Regions from separate parts of the Homo sapiens genome. Here all the other regions are linked to region 1. Evidence: promoter capture Hi-C in human tissues and cell types (Jung and others, 2019). All regions are on one chromosome and are shown on one strand. Each heading gives the region's core, a stretch centred on a gene start or on the middle of the fragment in contact. The rest is flanking DNA. Distances are from core to core; before and after follow the strand shown. Region 1 holds the start of KPNA3 (karyopherin subunit alpha 3). Region 2 has its middle 86 kb from the start of RNASEH2B-AS1. Region 3 holds the start of DLEU7-AS1 (DLEU7 antisense RNA 1). Region 4 overlaps C13orf42 (chromosome 13 open reading frame 42).

The links. The method cuts DNA at HindIII sites, captures the fragments that hold promoters and counts their contacts. A contact is called where the count stands out against the background at its distance.
Region 2: a fragment that was not itself captured here is called in contact with the fragment with the promoter of KPNA3 in region 1 in 1 of the 25 tissues and cell types used here (spleen).
Region 3: a fragment that was not itself captured here is called in contact with the fragment with the promoter of KPNA3 in region 1 in 1 of the 25 tissues and cell types used here (hippocampus).
Region 4: a contact is called between a fragment that was not itself captured here and the fragment with the promoter of KPNA3 in region 1, in 1 of the 25 tissues and cell types used here (thymus).

Annotation. Positions count from the first base shown.
Region 1 is chr13:49,791,263-49,797,505 of GRCh38, forward strand. KPNA3 (karyopherin subunit alpha 3) reads right to left here and starts at 1,420. Exons shown (of 17, transcript NM_002267.4): 1 at 1,176-1,420. The coding sequence starts at 1,244. RefSeq lists enhancers at 1-454, 459-1,120, 1,121-1,782, 1,586-1,715 and silencers at 576-1,145, 1,266-1,515. The HindIII fragment of the contact is 11,550 bases long and covers 1-6,243 here.
Region 2 is chr13:50,993,743-51,000,388 of GRCh38, forward strand. It overlaps the pseudogene GUCY1B2. Among named protein-coding and RNA genes, the nearest start is that of RNASEH2B-AS1, 86 kb to the left of the region's middle. The HindIII fragment of the contact is 7,435 bases long and covers 1-6,470 here.
Region 3 is chr13:50,803,088-50,809,352 of GRCh38, forward strand. DLEU7-AS1 (DLEU7 antisense RNA 1) reads left to right here and starts at 4,768. Exons shown (of 5, transcript NR_046551.1): 1 at 4,768-4,899; 2 at 5,453-5,619. It also overlaps a transcript of DLEU7 not described here. The HindIII fragment of the contact is 3,253 bases long and covers 390-3,642 here.
Region 4 is chr13:51,081,243-51,087,548 of GRCh38, forward strand. C13orf42 (chromosome 13 open reading frame 42) reads right to left here. Exons shown (of 4, transcript NM_001351589.3): 3 at 4,077-4,317; 4 at 877-3,083. The coding sequence ends at 2,909. Among named protein-coding and RNA genes, the nearest start is that of C13orf42, 27 kb to the right of the region's middle. The HindIII fragment of the contact is 3,186 bases long and covers 878-4,063 here.

The sequences.
Region 1 (6,243 bases), core at 170-2,669:
TTATCAAAAATTACAAAACTGCAAATCATGTCGCCTAGTATTAGCAAAGAAGGCTGCGGCCTTAAAACCATTTTCCCCCTAACAAATCCAAAGGTCACGGTCCCAGTGAAGTTTGTGCATTATACTTACTGTTTTCAGTAGCTGCAGAGAGACCTCTAGCGCTGCCTCAATAAGCCGAGTTTGCAAATAGTACCTGCTAATGTCACCTTAATGAGACAATGGCAACATGCTGAGTAGCAACTAACTGAGTGACCGCGATGAATGTTTAGTTTTGCAACCACTTGGAAATTCTACTAGCTTGGAGCAAGAGGTATGTAAGAGAATTATGAACCTGTGTATCCAATTTATTTTAGTAAAACGTGTCAAAGAAATTATCACCCTATGCACACCCCACTCCAAGAAAGGCTAAGAAAACAAGTCCTATGAGCGGAGGTCGGAGCAACCTCTTTTCCGAAGCCTGAACACAATAGATGGCAAACTATTGTCCACCTTCAGCTCGCTCCAAATGCCAGCAGTTGCAGGAGTATGAGCTGCAACAGCTCGGCACGACTAGTCCAAAGACGAGCACTGGAATATAAGAAAATGGTCCTGGCGCATCCTACCCTCCCCCATCGATCACCCTCAAACAAGTCAGTTACCCGGCTGGTCCCCACCCCCCTCTGCGGGCCGCCACCGCCCGCCTGGGCCCGGCTCGCAGAAGGTAGGAGCCCGGACCGGCAGAGCCGAGGCTCCATGTGAGCCGCGCGGGAGGCGCAGAGGGGGCTGCACCGGACGGAAGGTTGCACCGGTGGCGGGCGCAAGCAGCGGCCGCCCCCTCGGCTGTGCGGTCGGAGGGCCCGGGCGGCAGCATCCCCGTTCATCCGGGCGGCCCTGGCCCGCGGACCCCGCCTCAGCTCCACATCCCCTCCTCGCCGACACCAGGCCGCGCCCGCGTGACGGGGCCGAAAACGCCGGCATTTCCCGGTCGCCGCGCCGGCAGCTCCGGGGGGTGACTGCAGCCCGGCCGGCGTCTCGCCGCCCGCTCCGCCCAGCCCGGGGCCGCGGTGACGGGAGGCGGCGGCCAACTCCGGCCGACCACAAGCCGACGAGAACCAGCCCGGCGCCGGCCCCCCGCCCCTCCCCGCGTCGCCGGGCCGGCGCGGCCAGGCGGGCCCAGACCGCGGAAGCACACTCACTTCCACATCGCGGCCCTTGTTCTTGAAGCTCTTGATGCGGTGGTTCTCCAAGCTGGGGTTCTCGGCCATGGCTGCGCGCGGCTCCGGCGGCGGCTACTCCTGCGGCTGCGGCGGCGGCGGCGGCGAATCTTGGAGCGGGAGGGGGAGGAGGGGGAGAGCGGGAGGGGGGAGGGGAGAGAAGAGCACGTTCTGTGACGCCTCCGAGCGCGAGGTGGCAGTAGCGCCGGGGGAGGCGCGGGCCGACTGCCGGGCCGGGTGGGGCGGGAACGGTGCTGAGAGCGGCGCGCGGCCGCGGAGGCTGGCGACACGTGACCGGGGGCGGTGACCGGCTTGGGCGTTCGCCGGGCTATACGTGCCCGTTGGTTCTCGGGATGACCCTGCCCTCTTCCCCTGCAAGGGCTCTCCACAACCCCTCGGTGCTGCAAGTTTTGTGCCAGAAATGGAGCCGGACCTGGCGACTTTTACTGCCCCTCAGGCGCGGGGCGGCGGTCGTCAACTACAGTTCCCATCATGCCACGATCCGCCTGGAGTAATTCTCCACGCCTAGTGAGAACGAGGAGAATGCCGGGACCCTTCCGCGCGCGGCTCTTTGCGCGCCGCGCTCATGTTGCTGGGCACAAAGCTCCGCCCCCACAAGGCCGCCTCTGGGCGGGGAAGAGCGGGGGAGCGTCCCTGGCACCTTGCGCCCTATCAGGAGGAAGAGGGCGGGCCTTCCTGGGAGCGCACCTCGCTGCCTGTAGCTAGAAGATCAGAAAAGGAACAACCGCGAGTGCTTTGCAGTCTCGCTTTTTTGGGGGTCTTCTCAAATAGCCACCTTCATTCGCTCTTCCCATGCTCTGCTTCAGTTTTATAAATAGCATTTCTACCTGACATGTACATGTGTATGTATGTGATACGAGTGTTTATATGCGTTACCTAGGTGCCCGCGCGGAAATTCAGCTCAATGAGAGCAGGTACTTTGGTTGAATTACTGCTGAATCTCTAGTGTCAAAACAATGCCTACCACGTCGTAGATACGCAATACTTGTTGAACTGGCGCTTTAGTGTCGCCCAGTTTCTTCATCATCCTTCCAAGCCCGGTTCTGCAACCTTCACTCTGGCAGTCCCTGTATTTACATGCCCCCCAACACTTCTTGTTCTACCACCACACAGAATCTTAGCCTTCAGGCAGCAGCCCAGCCCTGGTCCGCAGACTCTCCTGTGTAGCACTCCCACTCCCTCTGGGGGCATCGAAAGAATGAAAGAGGGAAATTTGGATGGATTACACTGATAAAGAGCTGCTTTCGGCCGGGTGTGGTGGCTCACGCCTGTAATCCCAGCACTTTGGGAGGCCGAGGAGGGCAGATCACAAGGTCAAGAGACCGAGACCAGTCTGGCCAACCATGGCCCGCATGGTGAAACCCCTTCTTTACTAAATATACAAAAATTAGCTGGGCGTGGTGGCGCATGCCTGGAGGCTGAGGCAGGAGAATCGCTTGAACCCGGTAGGCGGAGGTTGCAGCGAGCCGAGATGGCGCCACTGCACTCCAGCCTGGCGACAGAGGGAGACTCTGTCTCAAACAAAACAACAAAAACAACAACAACAAAAACAAAAAGCTACTTTCTGGAGCAGGTGGGCTTCATTTGCTTGTATGTTAATTTTCAGAATCTATGGTAGACATGAGCAGGTATGTAATGTTGTAGTACTTATAATTGAACTGAGGTCAAAAGTTGGTAGGACTATACCATGAAGAGATCAAAAAGGACAATCTTTAAAGCGAAAGGGCCTTGGCTGGGCGCGGTGGCTCATGCCTGTAATCCCAGCACTTTGGGAGGTCGAGGTGGGTGGATCACAAGGTCAGGAGGTCGAGACCAGCCTGGCCAACATGGTGAAACCCCACCTCTACTAAAAAAAATACAAAAATTAGACGGGCATATGGCGCATACCTGTAATCTCAGCTACTTGGGAGCCTGAGGCAGGAGAATTGCTTGAACCTGGGAGGCGGAGGTTGCAGTGAGCTGAGATCGTGTCACTGCACTCCAGCCTAGGCGACAGAGTGAGACTCCATCCCCAAAAAATAAAAATAAAAAATTCAAACAACCCAACAAAAACATGCAAAGGACACTGATCACAGAAAAAGAATAAATATATGAGGAGATACAGAAAAAAAAAAAAAAAAAAAAGCGAAAGGGCCTTAAAGAACCTGAGGCCCAGAAGTCAGGAATTCAGAAGCCTTTGGTGGCCAAGCTATGTCCAGGGGCATTCGTCTTGTGAGTGGTGGGGTGTGGCCTATTGATAAACACAGGCTTCAGATCCTCTGGTCATACTGGACTGTGGCCCAGTGTTGCCAGAAGATTCCACTTTTCAAGGAAAACCAAAAAGGTAGATTCTTTTTCTCTTTATTTTTAAATGTTAATTCACATTTTGTTAATGGACTTAAGCATTTCAGTCACTTCAGAATATCAGGTCCTCAGTTTGCAACACCTGATCTTAGTCTAACCACTCATTTGAAGGGAAACACACACACACACACCAGCTATGAATTTAGAAGGAATACATTAGGCAGGGCACAGTGGCTCATGCCTGTAATCCCAGCACTTTGGGAGGCTGAGGTGGGAGGATCACCTGAGGTCAGGAGTTTGAGACCAGTCTGGCCAACCATGGCCCACATAGTGAAACCCTTTCTCTACAAAAATACAAAAATTAGGCAGGCATGGTGGTGCATGCCTGTAGTCACAGGTGCTCAGGAAGCTGAGGCAGGAGAATCGCTTGAACCTGGGAGGCGGAGGTTGCAGTGAGTTGAGATTGCGCCACTGCACTCCAGCCTGGGTAACAGAATGAGACTCTGTCTCAAAAAAAAGAAAAAAGAAAGAATACATTAGCTCAACTCTGGGTTTTAAGGAAACAGAACTTGTGTGTTTGCCATTCTCCTTGGCTAAATGGAAGAGAAATTTTCAGACTGTTGCTCAGTCTCTATTATAATTTAGTAGGTATTCCCTTTTCAGGTTACTTTATGCCACCTTTCTTCACACCCAGTCCAAAGCAGGGCTGCCCTTTTGCCTGGATCTAGTTTACTCATTTTTATTCTTTGCCAGTACCCCTGGTAACTTCAGCATTCACAAATGTGGCACCCTGACACCACAGTCTTTCTACATCCTTAACTTCACCAAGTTTTTTACCACTCAAGTGGTAAAAAGTGCAAGCCTGCACCAGACCTTGGAGACCTTAATCTCTGGGAAATGACCACCTCCAGGGACTCAAATTTGGTGCTTCTCATTGTTAGAAACTATCTCCTTCTCTTTTGCCTCACTCTAATCATCATCCTTGGCCTGAAACTTCTCTGGACAGCTCTTCTTTTAAATGGATTTATTTTCCACACATATTGTGAGTGTCTACTGTATACCAAGCATTGTATTCATCGGGCACATGTATGAAGGACTAGGGGGTCTCGGGGGAGACAGGAAGGAAGGGCCCTCAGCCCAGGGGTCAATCAAATCCTCTGACTCACTCTCCACCTTCCCAAGGCATGGGGAGTCATGCCAGCAGTCAGTCAGGTAGCAGTATGCCGTAGGCAACACAAGCATAACAGATGGGAAAAGGACTTCATGATTTGCCTCCTAAGTCAGCTTCTTTCTGCAAACTCACCCCTCTATTACTGGCATAACCATTCTTCCAGGGACACCTCTCCAAGCTAAGAGCCGTCTTTACTTCTTGTCTCTCTCCCTCAACTCCCTCACCTAGTCACCATGTTAATTCACCACTCAGTGTTTCTGGCATCTCTCTCTTCTTCCCATGCCACCCACGAGACTACCTTAACACCTCCTAAGCAGTCCACCTGCCTCCCCAATCCCTCCACAGCAATCTGACTCACTTCTCCAGATCTTCCTGACTTCATCTCTGCTCCCAATCAGCATACCCTTCTCCTCTGCCATTGTCTGTCAAATCATTTATAAACTCAGTCTAGGGCCAGGCTCCGTGGCTCACGCCTGTAATCTCAGCACTTTAGGAGGCCGAGGCGGGTGGATCACCTGAGGTCAAGAGTTCAAGACCAGGCCAGGCGCAGTGGCTCATGCCTGTAATCCCAGCGCTTTGGGAGGCCGAGGCAGGTGGATCACGAGGTCAGGAGATCGAGACCATCCTGGCCAACATGGTGAAACCCCGTCTCTACTAAAAATACAAAAAAATTAGCCAGGCGTGGTGGCGGGTACCTGTAGTCCCAGCTACTCGGGAGGCTGAGGCAGGAGAATGGCCTGAACCCAGGAGGCGGAGCTTGCAGTGAGCCGAGATCAGGCCACTGCACTCCAGCCTGGGCAACTGAGCAAGACTCCATCAAAAAAAAAAAAAAAAAAAAGGAGTTCAAGACCAGCCTGACCAACATGGTGAAACCCCGTCTCTACTAAAAAAAATACAAAAAGTTAGCCAGGCACGGTGCCAACGCCTGTAATCCCAGCTACTTGGAACGCTGAGGCAGGAGAATCGCTTGAACCTGGAAAAGGGAGGTTACAGTGAGCCGAGATCGCACCACTGCACTCCAGCCTGGGCAACAAGAGCAAAACTCCACCTCAAAAAATATACATATTAAAATAAATAAACTTGTCTAGTGGTTAAGATCATATGTGATGCAGCCACAGTGCAAGATACTTTTTTCTTATTTTTGGTTCCCCTGCACATTGCTCATGCTTCAGCTAACATGTTCTGCTCACCTTTTTCCAAGTATATCTTAACCTTTCCAGTTTTTACATCTTTGCCATTTGACTTGCTCAGATGGCCCTGCCTCTGTCTCTGCCTGTCAACATCGCTTCCTCTTTGAATACTCATCCCACATGGTCACCTTCTCTATGAAGCTTTCCCAGCGTGGTACTGTGGAAGGATCTTCAGAACCTGAAAATTCAGGTCCCAGGGCTGATCCTATCAGATCAAGCCCAGGTAAGTCAATTATCTGCCCTCAATCCTCTTTTCATCTACAAGTAAGGATCCTGAATCACTGGGGTTTTGTGAGAATCAAATTCTAAAATGCATGTGGAAGTGCTTTGAAATTGCTCTATTAATATTAGTTGTTACTATCTTCCTAGCCAGGAGTAATATGTT
Region 2 (6,646 bases), core at 1,503-4,002, 1.2 Mb after region 1:
TGTGCCCTTAAGATTTTCGTTAATGTCTAGGTCAAAAAAAATACTTATTTTCTTATCATCACGAAATGCAGATGCATAGCCCCATCTCATGCCTCGCTTCTCCTAGTTGGGATAGCCTCTGAGAACATTTCCAACACTCTTCTTTGCAGAAGGTATTCTGCACCTACAGCTGGAAGCAGGAGACGAACCGGCCAAAGGTGTCTTGGCTGTGCTCTGCCTTCTTTCCTTAGCTTTCCTAACTCTGCCTTTCCGGTGATTTTCATGTTTTCCCTTTCATTTTACATTCAGAAAATCTCTGGGGAATGCAGCTTTTGTTCTGTTGCTTCACGTAATTCCCAGGGCAGGGAATGAAAATTATTTGCTTTCACAACTTCTGGCTGAGTGCCTTTCACAGCCTGGCTGTGTTCTGGGGTGATTTATAAACTGCAGAGCCTGGGTCTCTTTCCTCCTCCTTTTCCTCCTCCTCCTCCCCCCCCTCCCCCTCCCCCTCCGCCTTCCCCTCCTCCTCCCTTTCTCCTTCCCACCACCCTTTAAAACAAGGTGAGCCTCCAGAGTCAGGGTGTCAGCCACTGGGGCTCTTGTTCAGGCAAAGGTTCAGTGGAACCATAGTGATGAGAGCTTGAAGCCATTCATTCCTGTTAGAAGAAGACAGAAATAGGCCTCAAGGCCGAACTTACGTCTCTGAGAACAAATTTGACCCAAAATCTCAAAGTTTAGGGTTGGCTTTGAACTAAGAATATAAAAGCACATTTTCCAAACTTGTCAGGATTGTGTTTCATTTCTAGACTTTTATTCTCAAAGGGATGATGAGGAAGAGACACGGCTTAAGAAGTTTTGAGCTGAGAAATGAAAAGAAGTCACTTTTCTTTGCTGCCACAGAACTAAGTAGGGGGAAAATTAAGCCCAGGGGTTCATTTAACCTGTTACAACAAAACACAGAAACCAGACGGCAAAGTGTCATTTGCAAGGTGATGTGTCTTTGTCGGAGCTGAAGGCTGTCGCCGGTCGGCTGTCTCCATGGAGTCCCCATCTGGCCCTGCACTCCCCACAGGGATGATTTCATCAGGAGCTGAAAGAACACAGAGGGGTGAGCAAGTGATCGAGCCTCAGACTGTCTGTCTGGGCCAGACCCTGGGGAACACGTGTGGACACTACGGGCCTCCTTTTCTACTCAGTGTGATCCTGGACAGGAAGAATTCTTCACAGCCAAGGCCAAACAGCCCGGACAGACCACTGCCTTGTGGCTATATGAGTTCTTTGAACTGCCCTGTGCCATCTTTTTGGTCATACCCACATCTTTGCTTCTGCATAACTCACACAATAGCACCAAGTCTCCTTGTCTTCTGGCCTGTGGCTGTCTGTGACTTCTGAGCAGCAGACACGGAGGCTGAAGGTCAGAGCCAGCATTGCCACTACTTGACCTGTAACCCTGGATGAGTTACTGAAGCTCTCTGGGCCTCAGTTTTCCTCATATGAAAAATGGAGAAATAACACCTGCCTTCCAGGGTTGTTATGATCATTAAACTAGATGATTTATACCAAGTGAGTCACGCAATGCCCCATAGAGCACAAACTCAAAGATGCCAATTAGTATTTCTAAGCATGGGAGGGAGCCCTGGGAGAAGGCCCTGGAGAAAAACCGCCTCCGGGACTGTGAGCCAAGGCAAGAGAGAGAGTGGGATCAGAGAAGGAATGGGATAGAGGCCGGGTGGAGGACACTGAATCTATCTCCTCCCGCGTTCCCTGCAGTTTCATTTGGAAGGGCAGCGTCTGAGATTTTAAAGTCATATATCATTGCCATTTCCTTTTTTAAAAATATAAATCATTGTCCCAGAGATATTCAAGTTCAGAAAGGCGCATGTATTAGGTCTGAGGCTCACGTACATCTAGTATTATAGAAAGCGGGAAATCAAGAGGGGCTCCTGTCTTCGGCCTTCTCTTCCCAAAATAATGGATGACTTTTTTTTTTCACTATTAGAGGCTGTTAGCACTCAGACTTCATCCTGAACCTGGATTAGTGATCGGTTTTGTTTTAAGATCCTAAGAGCACAAACAATGAGACAGAAACAGGCTCCATTCGCTAATGCACTGCTCATTGAGGAATGTCAGTGATGACATACATGTGGAAAATTTGGGGCTACCAGACCTCTCCCCAGTCTCATCTCAGTCTCAGGCCCAGAATGAGGTGAAAATTGGAGAGAGGGCCCTGGAGCAGAGAAAGGGGGATTCCTGGGACATGTAGGGCCATGTCACTGAGGCAACTTCCAGCAATGATTTACAGGAAGCGTTTAGCTCATGCATATATTGGGGCCAATCTGAAAAGGAATCAAGGTTCATGAAACTCTCAACTGTGACATTTTATAGGGTATGGCGCAACCAGAGTTAGCTAAGTACAGATATCATTAGCTATATGTTCATTTGATTGCTATTACATATTCTCTCTCTCTGACACACACATACACACACACACACACACGCACACACACACGACTGAATTATATTCAGCAGTATTTTATGCTCTTTGGAAACTGTTACTTATTCAGATACAGGATGTTTTGTTTTTGCTTTTTGCTGATTCTCTACTAATTTTATTATTCCCAATACTCTCTTTCATTTTGAATTATGGAGTTTATTGCAGTATTGTATTTTTTGAGATGTAAAAACTATTATAATTAGAACTAAATTTTTCAAAAATGGAAACATGCAGGTTAAATGATAAAAATAGTGTATTTGTGAAATTTGGGTTCCGTTTTGTTTTGTCATCATAGCAAATAGAGAAAAAATGAGTTGATTACAGATGGAAGTGTAATTTTTTTCTGTTGAGAAGACCTGGTCATCTGCCTCCACATCCATCACCACCCAACAGCACTACAAAGAGCAGCTGAACTCTCCCCCAATACTCCTCTGTGCCCCAGTTTCTCCAGATGTAAAACAACACCACACAACACATCTGTCTCCCCCTCAACTCAAAGAAATGTTATAAGAATCTTTGAGAGAAAAAAATATCCACAAAAGTGTTGTGATCCCAGAACTTATTTGTTTTGTATGTTTGTAATTGTATGAAAAGTGGAGGTCACTCTAGTGAAAATGAAAACTGAGCTGGAAAGGGCTGGAATTGCTAAAATGAGCAGAAATACGGTAAAGGAAACCATTCCCTGTACCCAGCAGCTGTCAGGCTGTGTTCATGATCTGCTCTTGCTTCCTGAGAGCACCATGATTTCTTTGTAACCAAAAGGAATAATCTATTTTCTGGCCTAACCTCTCATAAGGTATTTTGGAGTAAGCTCAACACTAGGAAACAATATTTTACAGATATCTTCGTCTCCTCTTTATTCAACACTCTAATTTTTTCCCCTTGCAATTTCTCTTCTCAGAAATGTAGCTTTTCAGCGTTGATTCATCTCTCCTGCCTCATAGCACATTTTTCTCTCTTCTAGCCTGACCATTTTTCATTTCTCTCACTTGTATCTTAACTGGATCTTCCATCTCCTCCACTTCTACTCCTATTTCCTTTAAATTCATTTTCTTCTTTCCCTTTTCTCTCCCTAAAGAGTGAACAGAGAACAGACAGAAAGGACAATCAGCTAGGACTGTGCTGAGAAAATGAACTGAAACAGCACAGTGAAAGTTGGACAAGCCAAACCTGACTCCATCAATTTGGGTTGATGCCTCTGACAATTCAAACAAGACTTGGTCAGCGCAGAACTGCAAGGCTGTCTTGGAATTTTCACACATATATGTTTGACATTCTACTCCAATTCAGTTCCACAATCCAGATGCTGGAAGAATTTTGTTTACTTGAGATGGATTCTCGTCCATCATCTTTCGCTCCCACAAAACCATTGTTCACAACCCCCAAGGACTGCCTATGAGTACCATCATTTTGTTACAGTTAATGCTCATTGTTGTGCACAGTTGGGAAATGTAGCCTTCTGGTTAATTACATTTTCCAATTAATAGAAATTACAAGGTACATCTTCCATGTGTTGCTGACATCTAGACACCTGGGATACTCTAAGCACCAAAGCTAACTTGAACAAGTTTAGTCTTTCTTGGAAAATTTAGAGGAAACTTCAGGACTCATGGAACATCAAGGGTACCAAAGTGTGTTGTAGATGTGGGTAGTATAAGATAATTGGGATTTTCATTTGGTACAATGTAAAAGTGGTTTGGGGGTATGTAATAGCACAAGTCACATGGGAAATAAGGGTACCATGTGAAGCACATTATATCTTTTTAAAATTATCCTCCTCAGTATTATTAAGTGTTTAAATGTTCAAAGGAAAGAAATTCATGCCCTGCCAGATTACAAAACAGTATATACATGACAATTCCATTTTTGTAAGAAAAAGCATGTCTGTATACACATATACACAGCCTCCCATATAAAAGTCAGGGAAGATATGACCCATATTTTAATAGTAGTCTCTCTGAATGATGTAATTATAGGTGCTTTGGTTTTCTTCTTTTGGTTTATCCATACTTATTAAAAATTAAATATTTCTTCTATAATACAAATAAACAAATAGTCTTTAATTGGAAAAATCACATAGCTCAGTATTAAAATCAGCACAGAAATCTATCTCAATGTAGATCAAGAACAGATTAAATGAAAAGAATGGTTGCAGAAGAAATCTTCCCATTTGGAAAACACCTATCATGTGAGATTGTCAAACACAAACTTGGAGGCTGGGGAGTTGGGGGTGGTAGTGGCTGCAGCGATAGCAGCATGGAATGTGAGGAAATGCTGTTGCCTTGGGGAATAGAGGTGGGATGTGGATCATCACCTGTTATCACAGGCAGGCTCTATGAATCATACACGATATGATATGGGGTTACAAGAAGGATTCTTACAATTGCCATTAAGATAATCACTTCATAGCATTTCTGCATCTGTTTCTAACCTTCTAAACAGAATAAGATATGGAAGACCACATCTTGGTTTCAACACTGATTCTCCACGACTGGGGTGGAGGGTTTGGCCTGAGCCTGAAATCAGGCACTCAGTCTTCTCCAGGGCCCTGCACCACCACGGCTTCACCCCATTCACCGCTTCACCCCATTCACCGCTTCACCCCATCCTGGTCCTTGACAGCACAGGGCTTGTGCCACCGTCCCACCTCTCTCCCCACCCTGGACTGGCCTTTGCTCTGTGTGGTCTCCACTTGTGCAGAGCCCTGTACCGCTCCCACTTGCTTCCATCTCAGTTTTCCCAGCGTTCACCCTCATCCTAGAGGAAGAGCAGGGGATGTGTGAACAGACAAAAGAGACACAAATTCCAAAAATGAAATTTTAGGGGAAATTCTACCAGTGAGTGTATACTTCTACCCTAGCGATACAAAGAGTGCAGTGGCATTTCCAGGATGAGGGAAGGGGTGGCTGTTCTAGGATCACACTGCCTGGTTGCCTCTTTCCATCCATGAACAAAAGAGGCCATGCCGTGCAGGAAATAAATTCCCAGCTTCCAGAAGTCCCCACATTTTCCAGAGACCAGAGCAGATCCTTGCCTATTCTTGTTTCTGCTGTTGCATGCACCTTGTCTAAGAGGTTTTCCAAATCCCAGTGTGTGTTTCAGCATCACTTGTGCACACTGTCATGCTGGAGCGCCCTGCACAAGGCTGGGAGCCTGACTTCCCATGTGGATTCCTCTGTCCCATTTGTCTGAAGCTCTTCGCACACAACAGATCGTATTTAAAAAAAAAAAAACAAACCTCTGCAGTACCTCTTACAGTTTTGTGTTAAGACCCATATATTTGTTAAGCGAATGAATGCCCAAGTGACTCAGCAGTCCGCACACCTGACACTCTGCTGTTTTCAGGTGCTACATACTATCTCATCTATTTCTCAAAGCAACCCTGTGAAGAAGGCCCGCCATTACCCCTGCCTTCAGGATGAGAAAAATGTCTTGAAGAGGACTTGCCCGAAGTAACACACAGGTCGCTGACTGCCAGGACCTGGAATTCTGATTTCAGTCTATTGCCCTTTCCATCACGATGGTGATCCCCAAGCCAGTTGGCTCATCAGAATCCCCTATAAAGTTGGTTAACGAACCAGTCACAGCCCTACTGCAGACTTGCCAAATCCCTCTCAGGTGAGGCTCAGCCGTCTATACTATGAACAGGTTGTTCCACAGATGGTCTGGCTGCCCTCCCACCCATGCCGCCTGTGCTGACCAGCTCTGATTTGACATCTGGTCGATGCTATCAAGGGTGTCAACACAAAACTTCAAGGCTAGCCCTGACACTGAAAATCCTATGTTCCTCCATTAGTCACCTCCTTGTGTGTGAAGAGTTCATTTATACCTCCCAGGATCCTCCTTCTGTAGGAGCTAGGTTAACGGCTCAACTTCTAGAAAACCCAAGGTTAAAAATAGCTGTGACACTCATTAGCCCCAAGGGGGAAAGGTCAGCAAAGTTTGACAGCCACACTTAGGAAGGACTGAGAGAGGCTGCAGAAAGGGCTCGGAGCTGAGAACAGGGACCCAGCCTTCCTTAGAAGCCTGGCTCCAAACCAGCTGGGCCCCCCCTAATTGGCCACGTCTGGGAAAGGTGCTCGTATAGTCACGACTCTGTAAAGCAAGGGGCAAGGGCCCTGGTAATTAAGTGACCACAAACCCATCCAATAATTACTCATCAGGGAGACTGCA
Region 3 (6,265 bases), core at 766-3,265, 1.0 Mb after region 1:
TTCACACATTTGCAAATACATCTGTAGGAAACATTCCTCAAATTGGAATTGCTAGGTCAAAGGTATGTGCATTTGTCATTTTGATAGATATTGACAAATTTCCCTCAACTAAGATTGTACGAATTTATACTTTAACCATCAGTGTGTGAAACGACTCACTCTCCCCTTCCTCATGGACTCAGCATGTTATAGAATGTGTTGATCATTGTCAATCTGATGTGAAGTAATATTTTCTGATAATTTAACTTGAAATTCTCTCAACTTTAGTGAATTAATAATGCTTTGCCCTTTTTTATTAGGTTGTTAGACATTTCCTTATTGATATAATTCTCTCTATATTAGAATATTCTACATTAATAAAATTAACCCATTAAAGTGTGTCAAATATGGTAGCCACCAGCCCCATGTGGCTCTTGAACACTTGAAATGTGGCTAGTTCCAATTGTGATGCACAGTAATTATAAAATACACACCAGATTTCTTGGAACAAAAAGGAATAGAAATATCTTATTTATAATATTTTGTATTGATTACTTATTGAAATAAAATTATTTTTGATATGACAAATTAAATAAAACATATTACTAAAATTAATTTCTTTAATTAAAGAAAAAAGGTGATGCATTTCTTTAAAAAACAGACTTCTTTTTACTTTTTACACTAACTACTAGAAAATTTAGAATTACACGTGTAGCTTACATTGTATTTCCATTGACAGTGCTAGTCTACTATGTGAGCTGCAAATTTTTTGCCCAGTTTATTTTTATATTGTCAGATTCATCAGTTTTTTGTTATGACTTCTGAGATTTGTAATGGACTTAAAGAGATCTTCCTTACTACAATACTTTTAAAACTTTTCCATGGTGGGTCCTAGTATTTTTATATTTTTATTAACGTGGAAATCTTTGATTCATCAGGAAATCATTTTGATGTAAGGTCTGAGGTTAGAATCCAATATTAATTTTTTAGAGGGCTAGAATGAACAACATTTATTAATTTCACCCTTTTCCCACTAATTGAAATGTCATCACGTCCTAAATATTTTAATGTCAGGTAGGGCTAGTACCATGTATTTTCTATTTTTTCCCCTGAATTTTCCTGGTTATTCCTGCTTGTTTTTTTCCTTTATATGAACTTTAGAATCATATATAGACTCCCAAATTTTATTGATATTCTTATAGGACCTGTATTAAATGTTTATATTTTTTTAGAGAGAATTGAAAACTGTCTGATACTGAGTTTCCCTCACCAAGAATATAATATACTTTTATATCTGTTCAAGTGTTCTTTTGTGTCCACAAGAGACAGTGTAATGTTGTTCGTTTTATGGGGTTTTTTTTTTTTCTGTTGTTGTTGTTTTTGTTTTTGAGACAGAGTCTCACTCTGTCACCCAGGCTGGAGTGTGGAGTGCAGTGGCATGATCTCAGCTCACTGCAATCTCTGCCTCCTGGGTTCAAGTGATTCTCCTGCCTCAGCCTCCTGAGTAGCTGCAACCACAGGCATGCACCACCACACCCAGCTATTTTTTAAAAATTTTTATTAGAGATGGGATTTCACCATGTTGGTCAGGCTGGTCTCGAACTCCTGACCTCAGGTGATCCGCCAGCCTAGGCCTCTCAAAGTGCTGGGATTGCAGGTAGGAGCCACCACGTCCAGCCAGTTAAAGATTTTACATAGGTTTTCACATCTGACAAATTTATTCTAAATATTTTCTAGTGATATTGCTATCAAAAATGAAGTATTTTCTTCTATTATGCCTTTTTTATTTTAATATAGGAAGGATGATGATTGTATATATTTACTTTATAACCAAAGACCTAACTGAATTCCACTATTGTTCTAATATTTTTTTTCAGTTGGCTCACTTTTTATATAATAAAATTTTTACTTTTATAATCTACAAGCAATTATTATTTGTCTTTTTCTTTTCTAATTTGTATACATTTTCTTTCTCTCTTGTAAAACTGCATTGCTTAGGATGTCTAGATCAACGTCTATGAATAGTTGTGGTAGTAGACATTCTTGTCTTGTTCCTGACATTAATATAAATATTTCTGAGTTTCCTTATAGATTATAGCACTAGCTTTTAGATTGAGATTAGTATATTGCACTAGGTTAAGGAAGTATCTATTGCCATTTATTGACAGTTTTGTTTTGTTGTTTATTTGCTTGTTTAGTAAGAATGGATGTTGGAGTTTATCAAATGTCTCTCAGCATCTAGAAACATGATTTTTAATCTATTAGTGTGGTAGAAATATATTAATAGATTTCCTAATATTGAACCATCCTTGCATTCTAGAATAAATATAATTGCTCATGGTGTGTTAGTTTTTTAATGTGTAATTGGATTTTGTTTAATAATGCTTTATATTCATAATTTTTGTGTAATAATCCTAACAGTTATTGTTTTATTATTTTGATTTTCTTCTTCAAGAACACCAATTATGCATATGTTTGATTTTTTTATATATTTTGCATCTATCATATAACCCTTTTAAATATCTTTTTTATTTATTCTTTTTACTCATTTTTTTCTAATTCCGTCTTCCACATGTCTAGCTATGCTTTCAGCAATGCCCTGTCTTCTTTGTGCAGTTTCCTACCACTTCTCATTCAGCTTTATCGCCTTTCCTTTTTCTAGAAACCTCACCACTTTGAGGCCCAGGGAAGCACTCAGTCAAGCTGACACACCCTTATTGCTAGAGAACAAATATCAGCAAACTATAGCCCATTGGCTAGCTTTCTTTTTTGGGAAGTAAAGTTTTATTGGAATATAGATATGCCCATTTGTTTATTGTACATGGTTGCTTCAGCACTACAGTGGCAGAATTTGATAGTTATGGCAGAGACCATATGGCCCAGAAATTCTAAAATATTTACTATTTGGTTGTATAAGAAGTGGTTTGCTGCCCTCTATTGTAAAAACCTCCATTTACATTTCAGTATGTATCACTTAGAATTGTGCTTTTATGACTTTCTTGAAGCTCAGAATCCACAGGCATCTTCACTCTGGTACTTCCTATGTCCTATGCCACTAAGTCTTCTCTCTCTCTCATTTAAAAATCTCTGTTGTTTCCTAGTTTTACAAAGGATAAGCTTTGCATTACTGTTTTTCTTGATTCCCTTGATGTTTTGGTTGGTTTTTCTGAGATATGAATAAGAAAATACTCACTTAGCTCTGCATGTTAAAATTGGAAGTCCTCAGATAATATTCCAAGAAATTATTTTTTATTTTCATCTTTGGTTGGTTGTTTTTTGACCATTGGATAGAGATCTTAGCATACTAAATGTCTTTATCCTGAATATATAGAGATTTTCTCTCCTTAATTTAATGATTTTATGACTTCTGCAATTCTTTTAGTGATTATTTAGTTCTCAATGAAGAACATAAACACAACTTTTTAAAAAACATGTATTAGTAAGGAAAAATTTGTTTTATATTTTCTATTGCCCTAAATTCTGACTCATATTAGACAGCTCGGAGTAATATTTAATACTTGAAACTTCACAAGTAATTACAAATAAATAAATGCTATAAATATTAAAAAATAGGAGCAATCTCAACTTTATCCTCACATTTTTCTGCTAAGACTTATTTAGTTACATATTGGGCTTATTTTAAAATTTAACCAAAATTATTTGATCTTTAATTATGTTTTTACCTAGAAATGTATATTTAAAAATAAAGTGTAATTCCAGTTGTATTTATACTATTCAGAATTTCAGAAGTCTGTAATCCCAGCTACTCGGGAGGCTGAGGCAGGAGAATTGCTTGAGCCTGGGAAGTGGAGGTTGCAATGAGCAGAGATCGCACCATTGCACTCCAGCCTGGGTGACAGAGCTAGACTCACTGCACTCTAGCCTGGGTGACAGAGCTAGACTCCCTCTCAAAAAAAAAAAAAAAAAAAAAAGTCGGTCTGCTCCTCTGCCTTTTTTTTTCCTACTTTTAAGAGTAGTCTGCCTCCGCAAACTTTAGTAAAGAAGTACTAAAATTAAGTGTGTTAAATGGTGTTAAGATATATATAAAAATTAATTTTTAAAGAGAGTTTAGATTGTTATCTTTAAATTTTTTTATACATTTCATAAAACATAAGTATTTCCTAATCATTAATAGGTTTTAATGAGCTTTAGTAGATGAGCAGAAATATCAGAGATATAAAATGATACTATACCGGCTTCCTTAAGAAGCTTTCTATTATTTCTTAGAATCCTGCTTTATTCTCTTTCTTGAATTCATACATGGCATTTAAAAATCTCTTAAAGATGGTCATCAAAAACAAACAAATTTTTTAAAAGATGGTATTTGACATCTCCCCTCCCTCCTCCTGCTTCTCTCAAGCACCAGTTTCCAGGTACCACTGCCTATAAAGCCTTTTCCAAACACAAATTTAATCTTTGAGTGTTGAGGTTTTTTTGGTGTTTTTTTTTTTAAGGTAATGTATTATCCTATGCAATGATATTGAGCTTTTGACTGAGAAATTGTGAAATCAAAAGTAAAGTATAGGAATTCCTTAATGGACATTTCAAGAACTTTGAAAGGCTATTGTAAGGGGAAGAAAGAGGGAAAATCTGTTTCAGTAGGAGACCTTCTCACCTCTTTACTCATAAGCCAGCCCGGGCATCATATGACTTCATCAGACTGCAACTTACTGTTCTCCCCTTTGTGGGGAGTGTCAAATGCTATAATAGAGTTCTCCAGTCTGAGGTCAGCGAAAGCTTCTCAAAGGAGATGATGCCTGGCTAAAGGGACTTTCTTTCTGAGAAAGGGATCAGCATGTGCAAAGATGAAGAGGCATAAGGACTGACCAGTGGGTCACGGCAATGAGACATTTACTGCTGACCTCCAAGAGAAGACTTCCATTGAATGAGAGGAAGATCTACACTACTAATGATCAAACTGTGAGTGTTTTAGCTTTGTAGACTTATCAGGAACTTGGGAGATCAAGAAGACAGGATCAAACAGCAAATGGAGCTTTATCAGAAATGAAGAAAAGCATTTCTCCACAGTCCTAAGCTAAACCCTTTCTGCTAGTCCCAGTTCTTATATGTGCATCAAGGCAAAAAAACATTAATCAGAACAGGAATGTTTGATTGCTCATTCAAATTTGAAATAAGCAGCTTCCATTCTTCTAACCTTCCCTGGTGGGGCCATAACATTATCAATCAATATCAAGTCTGGCATATCATTGGCTATCACTATCCAGTGAGTATCTGAGGCAGCTGAAAGAAATTGGGGCATCCATGTAAGAATATTCATTTTCTATCATTATTTACTTAAATATGTAATATATCAAGATCTGTTAGACATATTTAAGTATATATACTTATATGAGGTTGGGGGTCCCTGCAAGAAGTACCAAGTGTTTCTAGAAGAAATGTACTTGAATATAATCGCTGTATAATCACTGTGAGAACAGAGTTCCATATCTGTCCTGTACATGCTTGTCTCTAGTACCTGGAGCAGTATCTGACACAGATATGTGTTGAGTGAATGGATGAATAAATAGATAGAAGGAAGATCCTCCAACTATGAAGTTTCTTCTTTTCTTCTGCTGCTGTTGAGTAGATGAGGGTGCCAAGAAATAAGACAGCAACACCAGGAAGAAGAACAAATTTGGGGTGAGTAGGGGTGGAAAGGATGACTGATTTATAAATTGGGTTTAGGAGCCAAGAGTTATGCTCTAGCAATTGGGTATAGTAGAAGATATTTAAATAAGAAATTGCTGATATTCTTGCAAACTGAGCTTTTCTGTAAAATCATGAGTTTAGAATTCTTTATTTCAGAAGGAAAAAAAAAAACTTAGAAAGGTCAGTTGGAACAAAAAGGGAAATTAAAAAGCCACAGAGAGAAACAACTATGGTGTCCTGGGGTACATTTAAAATAAGAAGGTACTTAAGCAAAATCATTGCGTTGAGGACATTTTCTTAAATAGGATCAATTACCAGTGTCCCAGTCAATTCCACATGTCAAGAAGCTTGTCTACCTACTTGACTGACCCAGGCCTAAAAATGATAATAGCAACTTGGTGGAGTTATCTAAAGTTTGACAACCTTTCCTCACCAACCGGCAGCCCCATAGGACATATTAATCACTGCAGTTTTTACCTTGTACCAGATATTTAGAAAGTAAAACCGAAGAAATTTATTTCCATGTGTTTTGGTTGAAAAAAAGAGACGTTTCACTCAATCTATTCCAGAAAATATAGCCACTTTGGGACTGAACATTTCTTTCCATCTTAGCCCAAAGGCAATCACATTAGGGACG
Region 4 (6,306 bases), core at 1,221-3,720, 1.3 Mb after region 1:
GCACATGCCTGTAATCCCAGCTACTCAGGAGGCTGAGGCAAGAGAATCACTTGAACCCAGGAGGCAGAGGCTGCGGTGAGCCAAGATCGTGCCCATTGCACTCCAGCCTGGGCAACAAGAGCAAAACTCTGTCTCAAAAAAAAAAAAAAAAATCCTTATAAATGGGAAGCAGGAGCACAGACTGAGCAGGTGGAGACATGATGATGGAATCAATAGGTTGGAGTGATGCAAGGATGGGGTCACCAGCCAAGGAATGCAGGAAGCCCCTGAAAGCTGAAAAAAGCAAGGAAATGGATTCTCCTCTAAAGCTTCCAGAAGGAACACAGCCCTGCCAACATCTTGACCTAACCTGGTGAAACTGATTTTGGTTCTTCTGACTTCCAGACTGTAAAAGCATAAATATATATTGTTTTAAGCCTTTAAGTCTGTGGTAATTTATTACAGCAGCAACAGGAAACTCATTCTCTCTGCAAAGGCGAACAGTGGTGAGAGGAACACAGTGTCCTGTTAGAGACACTTTGGGCTCTGTGTCTGAGAATGGGCACCAGGAAGGTCGGTCTTGGCAGCAATGCTCTCAGTTGCATGGCACATGGCTGGGTACACACGATTCAAATCAAACTAGCAGCTCCATGCATCTTGCCCCATGAAGCAGAAGACAGTCTGTAGCGGGAGCTAGAAACCAGGTGCTAAAAAACAAGCCAGATGCCACGGATGCACATCCTCTCTTTTTGACATTCTGTCTAGGGATAGGTAGATTTTCATGTATCAAAACTGAGAATCCTGGGAAAGCCAGAGATCTAACATAGCCTCAGTGATCAGCTTGATTCCATTGAATAACTGGCCAATCCAAGGAAGAAAAGAATCTGTCAACTCAACTGGGTTTTCTGAATTGACTTTTATTGTTTCAGATTTCATTTATCTCAAACCCCACCAGACACCATCTCAAGATTCCCCAGGCAGAGCACAGATCCTTGGGTTTATCACCAACTTCAAACACCTAAAAATGATCCCCAAAGACAAGACAACCTTCTGTTTCCCAATCATGGAATTTTTCAGGCTGTGTATAGTCTCATGAAAGACAAAAAACATACAAAACAAAGCAAAATAAGACGGCACAGCTTCATGTGCCATAAGCAATAAATGCTTTTTAAAAAATCAGGACTCCAAACATCCTCGCAGTCATGTTTATTTTTTCTTATCTTTAAAAACAAAATGTACACAGTATCTTCACCACATAATTTCAGGGTGGATCTATGATAAACTGTAGTTTGATAAGAGGCAGAGTAAAGACACCTTTATCCTGAGTTTATCCCCAACAATGAACTTTTATAGATGAGGCTTCAAACAAGGCCACATTTAGGGAAAATAAAAGATCTGTGGTGATAAATGGCAGTGCTTTAATGCAGTTTATAAAACAAATCTCCTAAACATTTACTTTCCAGTCAAGCTTCTGGCTATAGCTGGGTTAGTACAAGCAACAAAATGAAAGAAACTTTCCAAACATTGACATTGGCACTCGAAAAATAATAAAGAGAGGTATTAAAACATTTCTAGTATGGTTTCATTCTGAAAACATGTTGAGATAAAATTTCTAAGAATGCAATATAATTACTAGCTGTTTTTTATTTGTAAGAGTTACATATTCTTAGATTCATATGATCAGGTTCACATAAACAAAAGGTTCTTCCTAAAAAATGGAACAATAAGAATATCATCCCACAGGCATGGCAGAAAGGAAGCCTCTGTTCAGTTCTTAGCCTGACCTTAGCCTAGAACATCCTTGGCTTAATTCAAATGATTGTGGTTTTCTTTGTTTTGTTTTGTTTTCTGTTTTTTGTCTCTCTCCCTTCCTTCTGCCCAAAGACCCTTATACATGCACAGACTGGTTTACAAGAAAATGCCAAAAAAAGAAGTGAGAATAGATAAATTTCAGTATATTCTCCAAACCAGTGGTTCTCAAGCTTGAATGGGTACAACTATTGCAAAAATGTAAAAAGTATTTAGAAATACAAAGAATATATTTTAAATGTAATTCTGATTCAGATAGTTCCTAAAATACAGAAATCCTTTCTATACCAAAAGAACGTAATGATTCTGATTGTTCTCTTAACTGGGGAAAGGGAAAGGTGTGGCCTGTCATAAACTGGTTCCATGGATATTTAAAAAGATTTTTCTGGGTAAGAATTAGAAGAAAAAGAAAAGAATCACCCCATCTCCCTTCTTCTCTTGTCAATTGCCTATGTGAAGGGGAGCTGAGTTTTGGGGCCTGAGGAAACAGTGTGGCCCCCAGGCAGGCTCGTGACATACCCCTTCCCTCACCCCATTGCCAGGGCATTAGCCTCATCTTAGCTTAATGCAGCAGGAGTTTCTGGAAAACTCTGAAAAGAGAGCAAAAGGAGCTGCTTTCTCAACTGCATTCTGCACACAAGACGGCAACCTCAGTGCAGATCCAGCATGTCTCTGAGCCTCATAGAAAGAGGAGCTACCTCTTTGAAGCTTTGGCCCAGAAATCTACAGGTGAGTTCATTTCTGGTACTGAGCACATTGCTAGCAGCCACCTGGACAGACACGTGGAGAATGAGGACCAGGCCAGGTGAGGTCAGGGGAGTGAGCCCAGACACTCCACTCAAGACCTTCCATTCCTTCAGCTCTTGAAGACCAGCCAGGCTGTAAGTCCCTGGTCATCAGCCCACGCAGAGAAACTCAAGCTCTGAGAGTGTCCTGAGACCTGTCCCCTGGGAAGCCACAGGTCTGTTTGGCACTGGCACGGCACCAGCAGGCAGTGTGCTGAGTGGGTTGACTGTGTTACAATTGGCATTTTCAACTCTACCAAATACCTCATGCTGCGCTGAAAGCGGACAGCTTCTCAGGGACCCAGTCTGAGACACGTCAAGGAATCCAGATGGAGTCAGGGCACCGTCCGCTCCCAAAGTCTTTCTCGAAGCAGCCACTGTCCTTTGGGGTTCTCTGTCTCATAGTAGTCCTCCCCAGGAGACAACTGGGGCTCCAACGCAAAGAGCTCTGCATCCCACTCCATATCTTCTCCTGAGAAGTTGAAAAGGATCTGTCTGGAGCTCCCCAGGCTAGAAGGAAGGAATGAGGCAGGAGGTTTAAGTTCGGCTTGGCCGGCCACACAGAGGGAAGGGATGCTCAATGACCACCATTCTCATGGAGACCCTCAGATTGCTGCCCTAGTCCTGGGTCTTGGGGAGGACCAAATGGTGTCGCCATGGGGGCCATGGGTGGACCTCAGCTGGACCTTGGCCTGGCCTTGAAGGGGAAGGACGGGTGGTGAGGGCTGGGTTGTGATTTTAATATGTCCAGTGCATGGTCTGTTACTGTGGAAGGGAAATGCTATCTAGAAAGCCCCTAAATCCAACAGGGTTTAGTGGCTTTTGTAGAAGCAAAGGAAGACAGCTGATGAGGCTTGACAGGCCCTTCCGTTGTGACAGGCAAGGCCCTGCAGCATGGCCTGGGTTGCCCAAACCCAGAAAGAGCTTACTGCTCTGAGCGAGTGGATAACAGGAATTTGACGGTTAGTGATGGTAACTAGGCCTGGGGGAGGAGGATCTAAAAGGAGACAGGCCAGAGGAGATGGTGGTAAGATGGCCCAAGAGGGGCCTGGCCAGCAAGACGTTCTACATCTTGGAGCCTGCCCGGTGCATTTTAGAGAGGGGCATCTGATTCATTTGATGTTGGTTTCCTCTTGGTGCTATGCTCTGTTGAACCTCAAACTCATTAAAAGTCTGTAGCATGCCATGCGTCAATGGCACTGGGGGGAAATCCATGAAGGTGGATGGCACAGTGCATGGGCTAAGTGGGCCAGAAAGAAAGGGAGGCAGACCCAGGAAGAAGCAAGTTAGGAGCAGTGCACCAGGCTAGAGTGCAGACTACCAAAAAAAAATGTTGAAACTAAGACCTCACCACCACCAGCAACAACAAATATATATATATATATATATATATATGAATAATATTTGGCATGTAAGATGGGGCTGGAGGCACCTTAAGGATCACCCCAAGCGTCTGGAGGCCACGAGAACATCTTGGTCATGCTATTTAGCCCAAGCACTTACTCTTTTTTGCAGGCTTTGGGCTTAAATTTCCAGGTGTTGAAGGCCCCTTCCACAGCCTTGGGCAAATAAATGGGGTGCCTCTCGAGTCTCCTCTGAGTGCCCACGGTCCTGTGCTCGGTGCTCCTTCGAAACTGGCCGTCTACAGTATGCACAGTGTGGGCAGCGATATCCTCGGAGTGTCTGCGCGGTGCCCGCAGGATCCAGTTAGAATGCAAGCTGTGCTCCCTGGAGCTGGTGGCCACTAGAAGAGAAAAGCATGTGACCCAGGAAGGAAGGGCTTGCCATTGGGAGGCGCATAAGGCAAAGGAGAGGGCGGATTGGACTGAACACTCACAGGAAATGGGTGTAGGCAACCATGTTCCTAATAGCCAAGCAAAGCAGATTTGACTCTGCAGTTGTGGTGCAGGAGGAATGCAATGGAATATATGTCCATTAAAAATGGGGACATAGGCCAGGTGCGGGGGCTCACGCCTGTAATCCCAGCACTTTGGGAGTTCGAGGCAGGCCAGTCACCTGAGGCCAGGAGTTGAGACCAGCCTGGCCAACATGGTGAAACCCCATCTCTATTAAAAATACAAAAATTAGCCGGGCGTAGTGGCAGGTGCCTATAATCACAGCTACTGGGAAGGCAGAGGTAGCAATGAGCCGAGACTGTACCACTGCACTCCAGCCTGGATGACAGAGCGAGACTCCGTCTCAAAAAAAAGGCCAGGCGTGGTGGCTCACACCTGTAATCCCAACACTTTGGGAGGCTGAGGCATGTGGATCACTAGGTAAGGAGATTGAGACCATCCTGGCTAACACGGTGAAACCCCGTCTCTACTGAAAAATACAAAAAATTAGCCGGGCGTGGTGGTGAGCGCCCGTAGTCCCAGCTACTCGGGAGGCTGAGGCAGGAGAATGGCGTGAACCTGGCAGGCAGAGCTTGCAGTGAGCTGAGATCGTGCCACTGCACACAGCCTGGGCGATGGAGCGAGACTCCGTCTCAAAAAAAAAAACAAAAAAAAACAAAAAAAAAAACAAGAAGACACAGATCTATATTTATGGGCTTGGAAAGTAGCCCAAGATGTATTGTAAATTGTTAAATGAAAGGACATCCTAGTTTTATGGCAAAAAAATTAAAATGAGTTTGTGAGTTTGTGTGTGTGTATGTGAGAGTGTGTGTGTGTAAGAGAGTGTGTGTGTGAGAGAGAGAGTGTGTGTGTGTGTGTTAAAACCACACTCAAAAAGACATATCCCCAAATGTTACCGGTGATGATTATCTCTGGGTGGCAGTTTTGCAGGTCATATTTTTTACTTTCTTCTTTATGCTTTGGTATGTTTTTTGTTATCAGAGGAGAAAAGTGGTCATTTCATGAACTTAATAAAAATGACTTGGTCACATTCATTTTTATTAAAAATTATAACTCTGAAAATGACCCTTGCATCCTTAGTGGATTTTGTCATCCTTTCACCAATATCCTGAATTTCCTAGGCCCCCTCACTCCCAGGGGCAGGGCTGCTGTCTGTCAGGGACTGGAGGGGCTGCGTGGGAGAGGAGGAGGATAAGAATAAGCTTGGGGAGCAGAGTTAACCTTCTGTGAAACTGCAAAGAACCCAATTTGAAACCCCAAATCCCACAGATACACATCTATCAAGGCCAGAACAACAACAACAAATCACAAGCTTCTTTCAAGCATTAGAGAAAACACTCATGAATTATTTAATATTGGTACCAAAAGCTCTAACCTTAGTATAAGGGGCCAGTGAGCCCCCTGAATAAAACTATCATTAATTTACACCATGGTGGGCAAGTCAAAGATTAAACAAACTGTCTGACAGTCGCATGATGGAATGTAAAGGGTGCTCAACTGATGAATGTGTTTGGATTCTTTGCTCTCCATCAGGAGGGGTGCCCAAGGACACGCCTTGGTGAGGAGGGAAGCATGAACTCAGGCCTCACCCCACTCCAGCTCCAGCAGTCCAGGCTGGGTCTGGGCAGCCACCGTGGGCCTCTCCTGCCCTATGCACCACCCTACTACCTAGCCTACGTATGGTCAGAAGCTGGATTCTCAAATACAGTTTGTCCATTTCATTTCTTTTTTTTAAGTTGTGGTGAAGTGTACAGAACATAAAATTTACCATCATCACCATTTTTTAAGTGTGCCATTCAGTCATGTTCAGTATATTCACGTTGTTTTGCAAGCGATCTCTGGAACTTTTTCATCTCAAAAAACTGAAAGTGTACCCT